Regions from separate parts of the Homo sapiens genome. Here region 1 is linked to region 2. The links are contacts of gene promoters, found by promoter capture Hi-C in blood cells and fetal thymus (Javierre and others, 2016). All regions are on one chromosome and are shown on one strand. The core of a region is centred on a gene start or on the middle of the fragment in contact, and the rest is flanking DNA. Distances in the headings are between cores, read along the strand shown. Region 1 holds the start of PVR (PVR cell adhesion molecule). Region 2 holds the start of CEACAM16-AS1 (CEACAM16, CEACAM19 and PVR antisense RNA 1).

Region 1 (5,616 bases), core at 2,661-5,160, 81 kb before region 2:
TGTGAGAAATACTCAGAGGTGTGGAGGGGCAGGCCCCCTTCAAAATGATCCACCCACCTCAGCCTCCCAAAGTGCTGGGATTACAGGCATGAGCCACCATGCCCAGCCACATATAACTTATTTCTAAATAACTTATTTAACTAACACCACATGATTTTATGACCCCCTATTTTATGGATGAGAAAAAAGAGGCAAGAGAAGCGATACCAGTTGCTTAGGATTCCCAGCTACCAATTAGTGGAAGCAGAATTTGAACCAAGGGAGTCTCTGGAGCCCTCGTTCCCAATCTCCTTTTCTTCCTCTCCATGTCTTTCTTTCTCCCCCTGCTCCCAGGCCTCCTACATCACACCCTTCTGGACAAAGCTTCACATCTGACATTTTCTTTTTTGGGGTGGACAGAGTCTTACTCTGTCACCGAGGCTGGAGGGCCGTGGCGCAATCATGGCTCATGGCAGCCTCAAACTCCTGGGCTTGAGGGATCCTCCAGCCTCAGCCTCCCAAGTAGCTGGGACTATGGGCATGTGCCACCACACCTGGCTAATTTTTTAATTTTTTGTAGAAATACAGGGGGTGGGGGCATATCTGAAAATTTTAAACCTTCCCTGACTGCCGTGAGCATTTCTGGGTAGAAGCCACTCCACGACCTTACTTTGCTGGCATGAGTGCTGGACAGCAATTTGGCAACATCCTCTAGACCACAAATGTGCATGGCCTTTGGCCCAGCAAATCAGCTTCTGGGAATAAATATGACAGATACTGTTACATACATGGGAAATGCCATGGACATGATGACCCAGGGAAGCACAGTTTGCAAGTACAAAAGGGCTGGAAACACCCAAAAAGCCCATCCCCTGAAGACAGTTTCAAAAATGACGGTGCATTCATGTAATGGAATAGTACACATTTGTGAATGAATGAATGAGGTAGCTCAATATATCTGCCTATGGGAAAATCACCAAGATATGTTGCTAAGTGAAAAACAGAAAGATACAGAATAATGCTACCATTTTATTTTTTAATGGGAGAGGGAAGAATAAGGAAATGGATTCATATTTGCTTAATTACACAAGCTTCCTGATGATCCTTTTGGATCCAGAAGTTTGAAAACCACAGCATCAAGAGGATGCCCATTGGGCATGGTGGCTCACGCCTGTAATCCCAGCACTTTGGGAGGCTGAGGAGGGTGGATCGCCTAAGTTCAGGAGTTCGAGACCAGCCTGGCCAACATGGTGAAACCCCATCTCTACTAAAAACACAAAAAAATTAGCTGGGTATGGTGGTGCAGGCCTGTAATTCCAGCTACTTGGGAGGCTGAGGCGCAAGAATCACTTAAGCCTGGGAGGCGGAGGCTGCCGTGAGCCGAGATCACGCCATTGCACTCCAGCTTGGGAGACAGAGCAAGACTGTCTCAAAACAAACAAACACACACAAAAAATAAGATGCCCATTGGAGATCTCCATTCACTATTTTATCAGATGATATTTCAGCACTTGAGTGAAGAAAATGTCTACAACTGGTCCAAACACTCAAGGAATTTAGACTCTTGACAGAGAAACACACAGAAGCAAGCAGATATGCCCCGAACCAAACTTGCTTTTTCTTCTAAGCCTGCTTCTTCGGAGCAGCCTCTGACCCTCCAGGGCCCTGAGAGGAGTCCCTGGAGCCACAGGAGCTTGGGAGCCCAGAGAAGTGGGGGAATCCCAGATGGTGACAGCATCATCCAGAGGAGGAACATAACGATGGCCACAGATTCCCAATTTGGAAATAACTCAGCAAAACAACACTGACAGAAAATTCAGAGATTTCCAAGAGACTAGCCTCCCTGTTTCCATTTAGAAATTCACCTACATACATCCAGGGTGAGAGACCCCAAGCATCAGATGTGTCATACACAAGCATCAGATCCAAGTTAGAGAGGGCACCCGGGGACAGAAACCTCCAAGCCAGCCAAAAGCCAAAGGAAGGATTTTACAGAAAGATACAGGAATGTGGGGCCAGGCACAGTGGCTCATGCCTGCAATCCTAGCACTTTGGGAGGCCGAGGTGGGAGGATCGCTTGCGGCCAGGAATTCAAGGCCAGCCTGAGCAACATAGCGAGATCCTATCTCTACAACAAATTTAAAAACTAGCTGGGTGTGATCACATATGCCTGTGGTCCCAACTACCCAGGAGGCTGAGGCAGGAGTTGAGCCCAGGAGGTGGAGGCTGCAATGAGCAATGATGGCGCCACTTCACTCCAGCCTCAGTGAAATAGTGAGACCCTGTCTAAAAATAATAATAAAAATAAAAAACATATAAAGATGTCAGAGCACAGGGACCAGAGCTGTTAGTCGGCCTCATGGAGACCCTGGCCAGGACAGCCACCTCTGGGGACCAGGAAGTCTCTCAGTTTCTGTCTCTGAGGGTTTGGCTCTCTGAGTCTCTCTGTCACCTCTCATTTCTCTCTCATCTCCCTCTGTCTATGCTGTGTCTCTATCTCTTTCAATCTCTCTGTCTCTGTCTCCCAGCCCTTATCTCTGAGTGTGTCTGTTTCTCTCTCATTTCTCTCTCTCTCTCTCTCTCTTTCTCTCTCTCTCTTTCTCTCTCTCTCTTTCTCTCTCCCCCCTCCCTCCTCCCCTCTCCCTACTGCAGGCTGGTCCATAACCCTTATCTTCCCCAGACCTGATGGAGTTCTGGTATTAATCTGTTTATGGTCTGTTTCCCTCCACTAGAACACGGTCTTCATTAAAGGCAGAGATTTTTGTCTGTCTTATTTTCTGCTGTATACCCAGTGCCTGGGATACTGGCTGGATCAATAAATATATGCTGAATGAAGAATGAATGAATGACCATTCTCATGAACATTATTATTTGATGCCAACTGTAAAGCAACAATAATAATAATTGTCACTGCCACTGCTGCTATTGTTGGTATATCAGCTTTTTATTTAGTACAAACTATATCCCCGAAATTGAGCTAGGCAGTTTCTTGTTTAAGTTTTACAGACCACGCTGTGAGGTAAGTACTGTTAGTATGCCCTTTTTTCTTTCTTTTTGAGACAGAGTCTCACTCTGTCGCCCAGGCTGGAGTGCAGAGGCCCGATCTTGGCTCACTGCAACCTCTGCCTCCCGGGTACAAGTGATTTTCCTGTCTTAGCCTCCCCAGTAGCTGGGATTACAGGCATGTGCCACCATGCCGGCTAATTTTTGTATTTTTAGTAAAGATGGGTTTTTGCCATGTTGGCCAGGCTGGTCTTGAACTCCTGGACCTCTGGTGATCCTCCTGCCTCGGCCTCCCAAAGTGCTGGGATTACAGGCGTCAGCCACTGCGCTTGCTCCCCCAGCCCCCAAACTTTTTTTTTTTTTTTTGAGACAGGTCTGGCTCTGCCACCCAAGCTGTAGTGTAGTGGCGCAATGGTAGCTCACTGAAGCCTCTAACTCCTGGGTTCACACAGTCCTCCTGCCTCAGCCTCCCAAAATGCTGGAATTCAGGCCTGAGCCACCGCGCCCTACTATGCCCATTTTTCAGATAAAGAATCTGAGGGCCCTCGAGGAGAAACCACTTGCCCAACATGAGCCCTGGTCTTGTCTGACCCCAAAGCCCATGGGAAGTTTAGGCTGCGTGGAAGGACAGCCTGGTGGGCTCAGGATCTGTCCCATCACGAGTTGGAACCTCAGCTCTGCCACTCGGCAACCGCGAGCCGTTAGTAAGTTGCTGAATCTCTCCGTGTGCCTCCGTTTCCTCACCTGGAATGTGGGCGACCTCACACAGGAAGCCGCCTCTTCTAGTGGGCACCGACGGAGCGAGCGCGCGTCTGCAGCGGGACTGAGCGCCGGGAGAGACCTGCGCAGGCGCAGGCGCGCGGGGAGGGCCAGCCTGGGTGGCCCACCCCGCGCCTGGCGGGACTGGCCGCCAACTCCCCTCCGCTCCAGTCACTTGTCTGGAGCTTGAAGAAGTGGGTATTCCCCTTCCCACCCCAGGCACTGGAGGAGCGGCCCCCCGGGGATTCCAGGACCTGAGCTCCGGGAGCTGGACTCGCAGCGACCGCGGCAGAGCGAGCGGGCGCCGGGAAGCGAGGAGACGCCCGCGGGAGGCCCAGCTGCTCGGAGCAACTGGCATGGCCCGAGCCATGGCCGCCGCGTGGCCGCTGCTGCTGGTGGCGCTACTGGTGCTGTCCTGGCCACCCCCAGGAACCGGTGAGTGACCCCCGCGCAGTCCGGTGGCCCCTGTCTGGCTCCCAGCTCCGCATCCAGGCCGGGTACTCGCCCCCTTGGGTTCCCGAAGATGACGGCCCCGCCCGGCGCCACCCACCCCCCATCTCTGCCCCGGGGTTGGAAGGAACACGGTGCGAGGGTGCGAGGGCAGGACCCTCCTCTTGGCCACCCGGAGAGCGGTCGGAGTTGGGTACAGAAATTCCTCGAAATTGGCAGCAACACGGGTCGGGCACAAGACCCTCCTCTGGGCCCCTCGGAAAGGGGATGGAGTTGGGTGAGGAAATTTCCCAAAAAGGCAAGTGAATCCCGGAAAATCAGCAGATGGTGACGCATGCCGGATTACCTTACCCAGGTTCCTGCTCAGCATACCCAGGCCATAACCCAGCAGCGTGCTGGCAGGCTGGGTCTGGACGGAGGGGATGGTTGATGTTGGGGAGGAGGACAGTGGGTGACACTTGACACCATTACCCCTCTGACCCCCAATGTCTGACTCCAGGGGCCTGGCCATTCATTCATTCTTTCATTCTTTTTTTTTTTTTTTTGAGACAGTCTCACTCCATCACCCAGGCTGGAGTGCAGTGTCCTGCTCTCGGCTCACTGCAGCCTCCTCCTCCCGAGTTCAAGCGATTCTCCTGCTTCAGCCTCCCGAGTAGCTCGGATTACAGACATGTGCCACTATGCCTGGCTAATATTTTTGTATTTTTAGTAGATACAGGATTTCACCATGTTGGCCAGGCTGGTCTCAAACTCCTGATAAATATATATATTATATATTATTATTATATATTACATATTATAGTAATATATAATAAAAATATATAATATATATTATAGTAATATATAATATATAATAAAATATATAATATATATTATAGTAATATATAATATATAATAAAATATATAATATATATTATAGTAATATATAATATATTATAATATATTATATATATTATTATAATATATAATATGTATATTATATATTATATATATTATTATAATATATAATATGTATATTATATATTATATATATTATTATAATATATAATATGTATTATGTATTATATAATTGATAATATATAATAATATATTTCTTAATAAATATATATTAAATATATTATATATTTATAACATATATTATTTATATAATAAATAATATATATTTTATTATACATTTAAAGAGTAAATAGATAACATATTTTATTATTTATTTATATGTTTTGTGTATATATATATATATATATATATATATATAGTGCGTGTGTGCGTGTATGTGTGTGTGTGTATGAGAGAGACAAGGTCTTGCTTTGTTGCCCAGGCTGGAGTGCAGTGGTACAATCCCGGCTCATTGCAAACTCGACTTCCCAGGCTCAAGCGATCCTCTCACTGTGGCTTCTGGAGTAGCTGGGATTATAGGTGCTCACC
Region 2 (5,801 bases), core at 2,550-5,049:
CTCAAAAAAAAAAAAAAAGAAAGAAAAAAAAAAAGGAGCAGGGATTCAGCTTTTGAGGGCCATGGCGAGGATTTTGGCCATCACCCCAAGTGAAGTAGGAGCCACAGAGGCTGGATGGGTTCTGATTCAGTTTCTTTTTTTTTTTTAGATGGAGACTTGCTCTGTCGCCCAGGCTGCAGTGCAGTGGCGCAATCTCGGCTCACTACAACCCCCGCCTCCTGGGTTCAAGTGATTCTCCTGCCTCAGCCTTCCCAGTAGCTGGGATTATAGGCATGTGCCAACTCACCCAGCTAATTTTGTTGTTGTTTTGTTTTGTTTTGTTTTTTGAGACAGAGTTTCACTCTTGTCTCCCAGGCTGAAGTGCAATGGTGCCCACTCAGCTCACTGTAACCTCTGCCTCCGGGGTTCAAGTGATTCTCCTACCTCAGCCTCCTGAGTAGCTGGGATTACAGGCATGCACTACCACGCCAAGCTAATTTTTGTATTTTTAGTAGAGACGGGGTTTTGCCATGTTGGCCAGGCTGGTCTTGAACTCCTGACCTCAGGTGATCCACCTGCCTCAGCCTCCCAAAGTGCTAGGATTGCAGGTGTGAGCCATCATGCCCGGCCCTGATTCAGGTTCTAACAGGATCCCTCTGGCCATGAGGTGGAAAGAGACTGTTGGGGGCAGAATTGTAAAGCGAGGGACAAGAAGAGTCAGGGGTCTCCAAGCTTTGAGCCTGAGCCACTGCAAGGATGAAGCTGCCATTTCTGAGGCCAGAAGGCTGCAGGCAGGGCTGGGTTGGAGATTGGAATGAAGATAGGTCTTGTTTGAGGCCAATGAGGAGGGAGCCTCACCCGAGGCACACAGGCTCCAGGCGGGAAGTTGGCGACAAGTTGTGGACTGTGGTTTTCACCCACCTCATGGGGCCCCCTCATCCTCTCCCCCAACTTCCCCTCACGCCGTGGTGGAGCCAGCTTTGTTTGTTTCCCCCCCATCATCCGTTTCATGATGGGGAAGACTGGTTTTCCCCTAACCCAACAGACACCTCTTCCCTCAGCCTGTCCCTGACCCTCCCACCTCGGGAAGCCCCGAGCGGGCCTCCCAGAATGTCCCGGCAGGAAGGGGCTGCTGCTACCGTTCATCCAGCCAGATGAACCCCAAAAGGGGAAGTGGGTCACCCGTAGTCACCCGGCTCATGGTCAGCTCGGGACTTCAGGATCTCGTCTCTTCACTGCACCCACCACAGCCCTGGGAGGTTTTCCATGCACGCTTCTCATTCTCCCCACATTTCACACGAGAAAACAGGGGCTCCAAGAGAGGCCCACACTCACCTAAGGAGCTCCAAAGATAGGGGCATCTGGATTTGAACCCAGGTCCTAGCAGATGTTGTTAGCTCAGAGGAGAAGGCAGAGAGGGTGAACAGAACCCAGCCTGCCCTCCCAGATCCAGTGGGAAGGCAGACTTGTCCCCAGGTAATAATAGCCCAGCAGTGTTCACAGCCTGGGATGGAGGAGCCCAGGAGGCTGCAGGAGCTCAGAGCGCATGCCTGACCCAGCCTGGGGTCAAGGAGGGCTTCCTGGAGGAAGGGACAGCTCATCTGATACCTAGAGGATGAGTGGGAGTTACTAGGTGTAAATAGTGCAGGGAGAGGGAAGAGTATGTGCAAAAGCCTAGGGTTGAGAGGAAACCTAGGGGCTCCAGCAAGGCGCAGTGGCTCATGCCTGTATTCCCAGCACTCTGGGAGGCCGAGGCGGGCGGATCATCTGAGGTCAGGAGTTCAAGACCAGCCTGGCCAACATGGTGAAACCCTGTCTCTATTAAAATACAAAAATTAGCCAGGCGTGGTGGCGTGCACCCATAATCCTAGCTACCTGGCAGGCTGAGGCACGAGAATTGCCTGAACTTGGGAGGTAGAGATTGCAGTGAGCCAAGATCACGCCACTGCACTGGCGACGAAGTCAGATTCCATCCCTCTCTCTCAAAAAAAAAAAAAGCTGGGGGGAGCCTAGGGGCTTCTAAATCCGATCGTGTCCTGGCCCTGATTAAACTCTCCTACAGCTGCCCTGGCAAACTCTTTAGCTTGGCATTCATTCATTCATTCATTCATTCACTCATTCATTCCATAAACATTCCCTGGAGTGCATTGTCAGTGTCAGGCCCCAGGGGAACACAGCAGTGACCACGACAGCCCCACCAGACCATGACCCTGACCAGGGGGCTCACGAGGGCGGAGACATCTACTCCAAGACCTGAAGGAGGAGTAGGAGAGATGCTGGGGAAGAGGCAGGGAAGGGTGTTCCTGGCAGAGGGAACAGCCTGTGCGAAGGCCTGAAGGTAAGTTTTGCATATGACACCTTTGAGAAACTACTTATTGTTCAACTGAAGCATAGGGTTGTTCAGAAGAAGCCAGCCTTGTGGCCGGGTGTGGACTTCCTCCCAGGGCACCAGGGAGCCACTGCAGAGTTGTGAGCAAGGGACAGACAGAGGTAGGCTTGTACTTCCAAGAGACTCCCCCAGCTGCCACATGCAGGGTGAATGGAATGATGCACAGAATCCAGTTTCAGGGGTAGTTTGGTACTTGGACCCAGGTCCCAGGGAGAGAGTCCAAGGAGCCCTTCTCTGGTCTTCCAAGGAGCTGCTCTCCCCAAGCTCCGGATGGAAGGCGTGCCCATGGCAACCGCTAGGTGGTGCCCGTACACCACCAGCCAGGTCTTTTTTTGCCAAAAGTAGATCAGGCCCAGAGCTGGGCAGAACTGCCCCTGGGTCAGGAGAGCAAATCGTCTCTGTCTTTTGGTCCTGGCTCCCTGGCCAGGCATCCTGGGGCCATTTGACTCCCAGGCTCAGGAAGGAGCTGGCTGAGCTGCAGTGAGTATGTTCTTCGTCTCTTTCCTCACCTTGGAATCTCAGACGGGAGCACCCTGGCTCCCACTTCAGACAGGAAGATTCTTACCTCCCTCATCAGACTAGCAGGCTCTTTGTCTCCCCACCAGTTTGAGGGGCTCCCCATTTCTATCATTCATTTGGAAGCTCATCAGCTCTCCCAGAAGGCATGGGAGCCCTTCAACACCCCCATCAGACTAGGACTACCCATCTCCCCCATCAAATTAGAACTGCATTGTCTCACACATCAAAGTATCACTCCTGGCCAGGTGCAGTGGCTCCCGCCTGTAATCCAAGCACTTTGGGAGGCCGAGGCAGGAGGATCACCTGAGGTCAGAAATTCAAGACAAACCTGGCCAACACGGTGAAACCCGGTCTCTACTAAAAATAACAAATTAGCCAGGCGTGGTGGTGTGCGTCTGTAATCCCAGCTACTCAGGAGGCTGAGGCAGGAGAATCGCTTGAACCCAGGAGGCACAGGTTGCAGTGAGCCAAGATCACACCACTGCACTCCAGCCTGGGCGACAGAGCGAGACTCTGACTCACAAAAATAAATACATTGTCTTACACATCAGAATGTTGCTCCTTACCTCCCCTGGCAGACTGGAAATATAGACTGGACACTCGTTCTTGCTGCACAGGACTGGAGCTTCTTATCTTCTTCATTGGATTTGGACAGTCCTGTCTCCCTCATGGGATTTGGTGAGAGCTCCTTAGTTTCCTTATTTTTCCCACTGTGTTGGGCCACCTTGTCCCCACCATCAGATTGGGGAACACCTTGTCTCCCAGTCAGACCAGAGGGGCGGACTCCTCTGCCCTTGCAAAGGTTCCTAGGTCCTTCTTACATCCATAGGAGGAACCATGCCTATTTTACCAAGAGGGAAACTGAGGCACAGAGAAACAAAGCACCACTTCTCTGTCCAGCTGCAGATGCCTCCACCTCCCCCTCCGCCCGCTCCTCTGCCCCTGCCCTCCCCCGCCCCCGCCCCTGACCTGGGTAACTCCCCTGGCACCGGGAGTAGGGGAATTTTGCCCTGCTGGCCTCTGCACCAACCACCTCCCCTTATCGGCAGCGTCGCCACCAGTGGCGGCCCAGGGTTAAAGTCCGGAGAGAGCTCCGGGCGCGAAGCGGATAGGGAGGGAGGAGTGGCGCCCAACCCAGAACGGGGACTCCCCGGAGGTCGAGCCCTCACGCTGCTGGGAGGAGAGGGGATGGGCAGGGCCGTGTCCCATGGTAAGGTGTGGGTTCAATCCTTCCTTTCTAGTTCCCGGCTGTGTGGTCTTGAACCTGGAACTTCACCCCAACTGGGAGCCTCAGCTTCTCCAGCTTTAAGGAGTCAGGGGCGTGAAAATGTCCAAGCTCTGGAGTCAGACTCCAGGAGTTTGAATGCTGGCTCCTATAACCTGCTGTGTGAGATCTGGGGCCAGCGAGTGTGTCTCTCTCAGCCTCAGTTTCCCCAGCTGTGCAATGAGGATACCTAGTGGGTGGTGGTGAACGCTCCATGAGTTTACGCACAAGAAAACCTTGGGACAGTGGCTGATAGTGGCGCCAGCAAGCCAGCATGCACCCCACCCTTTCCTTCCAAGAAAATTGCCTCCTAAATCTATGATTGGTAACCTTCACCCCTCCCTCTTTGACCCACCTCCTAACCCAGGCCACCTGGTGTCTTGCTGCACAGCTGGTCTCCCTGCCCGCACCACACCCAGAGGCGTCCTTGGAAACCCAACCCTGACCCCTGGTCAGAATCTGCCATGGCTCCCCAGTGCCCCCAGGAGAAAGCCAAGTGCTGTGCCACAGCCACAGCCTGACCACTCACTGCTTGTATTTTTTTTTCTTTTTCTTTCTTTTCTTTTCTTTTTCTTTTTTTTTTTTTTTTTTTAAGACAGGGTCTTGCTCTGGCCCCAGGCTGGAATGCAGTGGTGCCATCATAGCTCACTGCAGCCTCAACCTCCTGGGCTCAAGCAATCCTCCCACCTCAGTCTCCTGAGTAGCTGAGACTACAGGCACATGCCACCACACCTGGGTAAATTTTTAAATTTTTTTTTTAGCGATAGGGTCTCACTCATTGCCCAGGCTGGTCTTAAACTCCTGGGCTCAAGCGATCCTCCCGCCTCAGCCTCCCAAAATGCTTGGACTACAGGTATGCACCACCGCGCCCAGCCTCCTTTCTGGTTTTCTAATAAAGCCTTTTGTTCACCTCCTTCAAACACTTCCCCATGCTCTTCAGGTCTCAGCTCAAACAGGCCAGGCCCGGTCCCCTGGGTCCTCTCTGTCCTCCGTCTCCTGGTTCCCTGTACCTCTCCAAAAGCCCCCACGACCAAAAGAAGTAAAGATGTAGGGCCGGGCGCGGTGGCCTACACCTGTATTTCCCAGCACTCTGGGAGGCTGAGGTAAGTGGATCACCTGAGGTCACGAGAACCGATTGAACCCCAGAGGCAGAGGTTGCAGTGAGCCGAGATTGCGCCACTGTACTCCAGCCTGGGCGACACAGAGAGACTCAACCTCAAAAAAAAAAAAAAAAAATGGTGGCTGGGCAAGGTGGCTTATGCCTGTAATCCCAGCACTCTGAGAGGCCAAGGCAGGCAGATCACTTGAGCCCAGGAGTTCGAGACCAGCCTGGGCAACATGGTGAAAACCCGTCTCTACAAAAAATACAAAACTTAGCTGGGTGTGGTGGCATGCGCCTGTAATCCCAGCTACTCAGGAGGCTGAGGCATGAGAATCGCTTGAATCCGGGAGGTGGAGGCTGCAGTGAGCCAAGATCATGCGACTGCACTCCAGCCTGGGTGACAGTGCAAGACTCTGTCTCAAAAAAAAAAAAAAGTTCCCACTCTGGTCCAGCCACCATCACTGAAGGCCCGGACCATGCAGTCACCTCCTCATGGGACTCCCTGCCTGGGTCCTTGCTGCACCTCCACAAGGACCTGTCTTTCCCCC

The links. The method cuts DNA at HindIII sites, captures the fragments that hold promoters and counts their contacts. A CHiCAGO score of 5 or more calls a contact.
Region 1: the fragment with the promoter of PVR here is called in contact with the fragment with the promoter of CEACAM16-AS1 in region 2 in 2 of 17 cell types (monocytes and M0 macrophages); the score reaches 7.2 in monocytes.

Annotation. Positions count from the first base shown.
Region 1 is chr19:44,640,000-44,645,615 of GRCh38, forward strand. PVR (PVR cell adhesion molecule) reads left to right here and starts at 3,911. Exons shown (of 8, transcript NM_006505.5): 1 at 3,911-4,176. The coding sequence starts at 4,098. RefSeq lists a silencer at 3,863-3,942. The HindIII fragment of the contact is 7,623 bases long and covers 1,069-5,616 here.
Region 2 is chr19:44,721,384-44,727,184 of GRCh38, forward strand. CEACAM16-AS1 (CEACAM16, CEACAM19 and PVR antisense RNA 1) reads right to left here and starts at 3,800. Exons shown (of 2, transcript NR_186815.1): 1 at 3,454-3,800. RefSeq lists enhancers at 919-1,068, 1,199-1,308, 1,379-1,438. The HindIII fragment of the contact is 7,565 bases long and covers 710-5,801 here.